Regions from separate parts of the Homo sapiens genome. Here region 1 is linked to region 2. The links are contacts of gene promoters, found by promoter capture Hi-C in blood cells and fetal thymus (Javierre and others, 2016). All regions are on one chromosome and are shown on one strand. The core of a region is centred on a gene start or on the middle of the fragment in contact, and the rest is flanking DNA. Distances in the headings are between cores, read along the strand shown.

Region 1 (3,818 bases), core at 34-2,533, 58 kb before region 2:
TGTCATAATCCATTCTGCATACTACAAATCATAGTTGCAGTTTAAATTTGTGGGGAGAGGGACATCAGCAAGATGATGAATAGAGGGTCCCAGCCTTCACCACAGAAAGTCCATTTGGCAACTAGTCACATACAAGAACACCTTTTTGAAAATCCCAAAATTTGGGAATGAAATTGAGACACGCAGATGGACCACAGAGCAAAAAGTGCATTAGAAGGGTAGGAGCAATGGTCTCAGTTTGACTGAATCCTCCCTTCCCTAAGTAGGCACAATACCACACACAGAAGATTCCCCTTGGCACACAGTTAATGCAGTGGAAAAAGAGACAGCTATCCAGTTTCCCCAGCATTCTGTGATGCTTCCTAGGAGGCCCATTCCTGTCTCACAGGGAACCCTGGGGGTAAGGCCTAGACTACCAGGGGTCAAGTAGGAACAAAGGAGTGGGGCAGTGCTCACAGCAACCAGTACACGGATCTTAGTCATAGCTGTGTTCCTGCCAGCAGTAGCACCTGATCAGAGATACCAGCCAGTGGCATAGCCCATTTACAAAGCCTAGCTGGTTGCTGCAGAAGCTCAGTAGGAAAGTCTATCTGGTTTGAGCCCCTACAGGGCAGCCACCCCACCTAGCCTCAGCATCCACCCCCATGCTTTGCTCAGGCAGGCAGACATCACAAATGTTTTACATTTGTGTAAGATACAGATGGCCAATAGGTTTATCAAAAAGTGTCCAACATCACTAATCAATAAAATGCAAATTAAAACCGCACTGAGATAACCACTCACACCTGTTAGAATGGCTGTTATCAAAAAGTAGAATGAGACACGTTGGCTCATGCCTGTAGTCTCAGCACTTTGGGAGGCTGAGGTGGGAGGATCACTTGAACCCAGGAGTTCAGGACCACCCTGGCCAACTTAGTGAGACCCTGTCTCTACAAAAAATAAATAAATAAATTAGTCAGGTGTGGTGACATGTGCCTGTAGTGCCAGCTACTCAGGAGACTAAGGTGGGAGGATTGCCTAAGCCCAGGAGGTTGAGTTTTCAGTGAGCTATGATCACAGACGCTGCTGCACTCCAGCCTGGGAGACAGAGCAAGACCTTGTCTCAAAAAAAAAAAAAAAAAAAAAAAAAAAAAAGTCAAATGATAACAGGTGTTGGCAAAGATGTGGCGCTTGGGAACCCTTTTATAACTGTTAGTGGCAATGTAAATTAGTAGAGCTATTATGGAGGATAGTATGGGAGGTTTCTCAAAAAACCAAAAGTATATTTACCATATGATTCAGCCATCCTACCTCTGGGTACATATGCAGAACTGAAGTCAGTATGTCAAAGAGATATCTGCACTTACATGTTCTTTGCAGCACTATTCATAGTAGCCAAGATATGGAATCAACCTAAGTGTCCATCAGTAGGTGACTGGATAAAGTAAATGTGTATATATATACACAGTGGAATACTATTCAAAGGAAATCTTATTTGTGACAGCATGGATCAACCTGGAAGACTTAATGCTAAGTGAAAGAAGCTAGGCACAGAAAGACAAATACTGCATGATTCACTTTGATGTGAAATGTAATAAAGTTAACACTACAGAAGTAGTGAGTAGAATGGTAGTTACCAGTGGCCGGTGAGGGGTTCTTGAAGGGAATGGAAAGAAATTGTCCAAGGGGTACAAAGTTTCAGTTAGACCAGAGGAATAAGTGTTCAGGATTTATTGCATAACAAAGTGACCATAATTAATTGTAATGTATATCTCAAAATTGCTAAAGGAGTAGATTTTAAATCTTCTCACTGCAAAAAAAAAAGTGAAGCATGTGAGACGATAGATATGTTAATTACCTTGATATATTCATCCCACAGTGTATAATACCAAAAACACATTGTATCCTGTAAATACATAAAATATTTGTCAATTAAAAATTCAGACATTTTTAAATAAATGTATATGTGTGATTATTTGATTGGTATCTACTACCTCTGTGATGTCAGAGGCTATGTTTAAATTGCTTACTCTTATACCCCCAGGACTTAGCCCAGTGCCTTTAACAGGAACTCAGTAAATACTGAGTAATTGAGTGGACAAACAAGTGACTTGAGTAACTGTGGCTGTAAAGGTATTCTTTAGGCTGGATCCTCTCCTGAGGTTTCTTATTGGCTAATATCACTATTTATTTCAGTCACTGAGGGTAGTGAACCATGATTCAGAAAACCTGGATTCTAATCCTGGCCCTACCATTTACTAGCCATTAATGAGTAAATTATTATTTTTTAACAAATATTTATTGACTGCCTAATATGAGTTAGGCACTTTGCTAGTTCTTGAGAATAATGAAAACAAACATTGATTTATTTTTTTATGGAGTTGAAAATCTAGAGAAAAAGATGAACAGTTAAATATTTATATGAATAATGTAATTACGACTATGAACTTGATTAATAGTGAATCTTTAACTTTTCTGAACTTCAGTTTCCTCATCTATAAAAAAATACTCTGCCTTATATTGTTGAAAGGATTTAATGACAATACTGTTAAAAGCAATATGTCAGACTAGGTAATTTGAAAACACTCTTTCTGCAAAACATCTAAAAATAATACTTAAAATATTATAAGATTCTTTTAAATACGTTGTTGAATTCACTAGAAAGTAGGAGAAGTTCCAGGTGCTAGAAATGAAGAAGGAACCAAACACCAGAGTGATATGGACAGTTGGTGTGATGCTGAGGATTCTCAGGGTGTAGGGTAGGGAAGCTGGAGGGCGATTTTCCAGTTTTTGAAACCAGAGATTTTAACAGCAATGAGATGACATGAGAATAGACGTAGCAGAATGAATTAGAATCAAGATATCCCCTGAAATGCATGCACAGATATACACACAAAGCTAGAACTGGTCAAGGACTACACCCTTAATGAAAGGGCCAATTAGAAAATAAGCAAACAAACAGAAAATTGAGCTAGCCAGCATAGAGAATTTACAAAGAAGTGTAGAAGTATATCTGCTTTAGCCTGGGCTTAAGGATAGAGACAAAACAGAAATAGTCTTCATTGAGAATTTGCAGCCACAGTTGGCCCTTAAGTGAGCCTAGAGTTTGAATTTATGTTTCCTGTGTAGTTCAAGAATCTTCATGCCAGGGCATTAAAATAAAAAATTGTCTTCAGTTGGTGATAATGCTGGAGTAGCTATAGAAATCAATATAAAACCAAACTTGAAGTTTGTACCCTCAACCCAAGTGGCATGATATTCTCAAAACAAACTCTACTGAAGATAATCTCACACTCCAAATACACAGGGAAATACCTACCATGAGCAAGAACAGCAGACATAACAAACAGCATTAGATTCCCAAGAAGTTCAAAGAACAGTAATGACAATAGATTGATAAAATAGTATCTTCACATAGTTGAAAGAAAATACCTGTTACCTTAGAACTGAAATACTGGGCAGCAATAACTTGTAAAACTGGAGAGGCACGTTGATAGTTGAAATGTTAGTCCTTTTGTTGTTTGAAAGGAAGAGAGAGAAACTGGTGAACTTTAGACTTTTTGTTTTTAAGAGACAGGACCTTGCTGTGTTTTCCAGGCTGGAGGGCAGTGGTGTGATCATAGCTCACTGCAGCCTTGAACTCCTGGGCTCAAGCAATCCTCCTGCCTCAGCCTCCCGAGTAACTGAGACAACTGGTGCAGGCCACCACACCCGGCTGCTTTAGACTGTTAAGTCAGATATGCATGTTAAAATGTGCGGGGTAGCCACTGAAAGCATAATGAGATGGTGCTGGTCTGATGACAGTGATTATTAAGTCATCAACATCAGAGGTATCAAGT
Region 2 (3,576 bases), core at 199-2,698:
TCTGGCTTTACTTCCCATCCAGCAGCACACTGGATATTGAAGAAAGTCAGTGAAATGTTAGATCCAGGGGACTGACCGCTAAAACTCCCAGGGTATCTAGAAGAGCTAAGTACGTGGTAGGGGATTCGCTTTTCCAAATTGAGGAGGGTGAACTTCCCCCAACCCAATCAAGATCTTTTGGACCAAATGATGTCCAACTGCTTGAAACAACTCAGCTGCACAGAGACAGAAATAAACAAAACAGCTTTAGTCTGAGGTTGTGTGGGGCACTGCAAGATGCTGCTTCTCCAATTCATCTGTCCACACAGCACGGTTCCCCATTGAATAAACAGGTTACTATCCACTTATCAGAGAAGTTAGGGAGGACCTGCCTTTTAATGCTGCTTAGAGAGACACTTTGTGATGAGAAAAGAGCTCGTACAAAAGATTTTTTTCTCCCCCCTCCCGCTGAAGTGCTGGGGTTGTGTGCTTCCACGTACATCTGGGATACCATTATATTTACAAACAGAGGTCTCATAGCCTGTGTCAATGAGCGGGAACGTTGGGGAATTTGGACCCCAATTTCTTGTTCTTCTGCACTTGACCTTGCCTTCCAATTCGTTATGAAATACATTGACTAGTTTTGCTTCTTCCATTCTACAAATCATGCGAATTTTCTATACTAAACTGTGTTTTCCCAGAGGCAGTGTAGGAGGGAGTCAGCTGGACTTGGTTTCCAGGCAATGAGAGGCTCCCAGGTCGATCCCATTAAGGCAATGCCCTCATTTTGAATAGCAGATGACCGGGACCCCTCCTCCCCCACACACCTGAATTGGAAAATTGGCTCGGCTTTGTACAAGCCCTTGCCCTTAGGCTGTCCATAAAATAGGAACAATACTGAAGACAATCCTGTAAGCTACAAAAGCAAAGGCTCCGGCGCGTAGTAGGTCCGTCTCCTCCTCCCGCCGAGGGACGCCAGAGTTAAGGAGCTTCTTGCTGGGAAGGGGTCCCTCCTTTCAGCCGGAACCTGACCCGCAGAATGTATCGGAAATGTGAGCAGCCCTAGTATCCCTTCCCCGTCGACGCTCGGTGAAAAATCGATCGACGACCGAGGGCGCGCAGTCCCTTCCCCTCACACCCGCCAGCGCCAGGGGCGCGGTCGCCTCCCTGGCCTCCGCGCCCGCGGCTTGGGGCCTCAGGAGAAAGCGAGACTCCGGGGCGCGCCGGCGGCGGTGGCTTTCTGTATCCTCGCGGGTCCCTAGCCCCGCGTCCGCGTGCGCGGCGGCCTCGGGGGCGCGGCGGGAGCGGGCGTGGCGAGCGAGCCGGCCTTCCTGCTGCAGCTGCTCCCCCGGCGGCCGGGCGGAGAGTGCGGATTGCGCGCGCTCGGGGCGGGGGAGCGGGCGCGCGCGAGGCTGCCGGGCTCGCGCCGCGCCGCGCCGCCTAGTCCCCGCCGGGCCGCCCGCCCCGCCCCTGGCCTCCCGCGAGCTGCGCACCGCCGGCCGCTGCCCCAGCTGCCCGAGCCCGCGCCCTCGTCCGCGCGACCCGGCGGGGGGCTCCAGGCCGGCAGCATGAGCGGCGGCGGCGACGTGGTGTGCACCGGCTGGCTGAGGAAATCGCCTCCCGAGAAGAAGTTGAGGCGCTATGTGAGTGCGGGCGCGGCCGCCCAGGGGCGGGCGGGGGGCGCTCCGGGGCCTGCGGAGGGGCGGGGGACTCCCGGAGGGGCGGCAGGCTGGGGAGCTCGGGCCCGGAGCCGCGGGGGGCCGGGGGCGAGGAGCGGCCGGGGGCGTGTGGGGCACCTGCACACCTGTCACAGGTGGGCCGCCGAGGGGCGGGGCGGGCGGCAGGTTGAGGCTGCGGCTCCTGCTCCGCCAGGCGGGTGCGGCTGCGGCGCCTCCCAAGCCGGTCTGCTCGTGAACTAAATACAGTGTCGAAGTTTTGTATTGATGGCTTCTGGAGACCGAGAGAGTTGACTCTCGGGGCTGGGGCTCCGCGGCAGCCCCGAGCAGCTTCAGCCCGCAGGGTCGGGGAGAGGGCGGGAAAGGGGGGCGTAGGCTGTGGGGCCGCGCGGACGGCCCCACAAAGGGCGAGCGCCTCACGCCCTCTCCTTCCCTTTCTCCGCCTGCCCCTCCCGGCCGCCGGCCTCCCTCCGTCCGCGGCTGCATCACCGGCAGCGTCAGCGGCATGTGCAGCCCTTGTATTAAGTGACTCATTTGTTTGTCCCCCTTCTTTCCCTTTATTCCGTTCGTCTCTCACAGGCGCCTCCCCCCGACCCCGGTGTGACACTGCAGTTTGGTCCCCGTGGCTGGCCCGGGTTTGGGACCGGGCAGCTCCCGGGTGTCTGGGGTCGGGAGAGATCGAGGCTCTCCGCGGCCAGGTGTTGCCAACCGACAGTGTTTACTGAGATCGCTGGAACAGCCTTTTCCCTCTAGGTGGGGAACTGGCAGCCTGGGGGAGGTGGAACAGCGTGGCGCTGAGCCGTGGAGTTCTGGCTTTTTTTTTTTTTTTTTTTAACCCCTCTCCCCAGAGGATGCCTTGCCTGGTGAGGTCAAAGTACAAGATGGTGCCAGTTACTGAGATTTGGCCGAAATGGTCTTGGGGTAGTCGCGGGAGTTTGGAAGTGGGGGTAAGGTTGCTGGAAGGTTTCAAGGTCTCTCATCTGCTCCCTCTCCGTTTCCCATGAAATGCCCTTGTTTAACGGGCTGTGGTGCCGAACTCCGGGATCACTCCCACAGCCTGGAAGGGAGCCGTTGCCTCCAGCTGCAGTGCATCAAGGGAGCTCGGAATAGACCCTGCCCTCTGTCAGCTGCACCAGTGGCTGTCCATGGGGGGAGAGGCAGAAGCCTACCAGAATTTCCTGTCTTGGCTCCCCAGATCAGAATCAAGGGACTTCTGGCCTCTGGACTGAGGAAGTGACATTCTGTTTTTCAAAGGAAGTGTTGTTGTTGCGGAGTACAAGTGTGTGTCAATGAAATCAGGCTCTTAGGTAGATGTTTGCTGGGGGAAAAAAATCTAAGGATTTAGCACATGAGTTTTGAAAGTGGACGTGGATTTATAGGAGGAATGAAGCAGTGAATTGTTCATCTCAGTTCGGAAGCTCATTTTTAGGAGTGTCTATGTAGCCAAAGTATAATTATTAAGAAATAAACTTTTTTCCTCTTCAGGGTTGTATCAGTTCGTTAGGAAGGTTGAATATTTTAATTAGGATTAAGGAGCAGTGATTTACTATTAACAATTTTATAAATAATTTAAAAACTTTGTCCCGAAGAGCTTCCAAAAATTATCTATACAAATAGATTTCCATACAAGCTAGTGGAATACAGTGTCCACAGTAAAAAAAAAAAAAAAAAAAGTGACCCTTAATTTTCAAGTTTGAACACTATACACTAAAGAACCTTGAAAGTTGTTTTTGAAACAATTTGCAAACAGTATGACACTGTATCTACATTTGACTTATCGCTCCTTGAACTCTCACCCAGACTCTATGACCCATTTCTTGGGTGTTTTTGTTCCCAAACAACTTTAGTTCAAAATAACCAGGTTTGGAGGCATTTGGGTCAAGCACCTTTTTCACTGATTTGAACGAATCTAGTCGTATGA

Evidence for each region. The method cuts DNA at HindIII sites, captures the fragments that hold promoters and counts their contacts. A CHiCAGO score of 5 or more calls a contact.
Region 1: a contact is called between a fragment that was not itself captured here and the fragment with the promoter of GAB2 in region 2, in 2 of 17 cell types (total B cells and naive B cells). The highest score is 9.3, in total B cells.

What each region holds. Positions count from the first base shown.
Region 1 is chr11:78,472,897-78,476,714 of GRCh38, reverse strand. All of the region lies in intron 9 of NARS2 (asparaginyl-tRNA synthetase 2, mitochondrial), which reads left to right. LOC105369403 (a long non-coding RNA gene) reads right to left here. Exons shown (of 2, transcript XR_007062798.1): 1 at 3,419-3,818. Among named protein-coding and RNA genes, the nearest start is that of LINC02728, 45 kb to the right of the region's middle. RefSeq lists an enhancer at 3,378-3,672. The HindIII fragment of the contact is 8,270 bases long and covers 1-3,818 here.
Region 2 is chr11:78,415,692-78,419,267 of GRCh38, reverse strand. GAB2 (GRB2 associated binding protein 2) reads left to right here and starts at 1,448. Exons shown (of 10, transcript NM_080491.3): 1 at 1,448-1,622. The coding sequence starts at 1,548. RefSeq lists silencers at 1,059-1,678, 1,789-1,888, 1,959-2,088, 2,551-2,845 and an enhancer at 1,708-2,462. The HindIII fragment of the contact is 5,597 bases long and covers 1-3,576 here.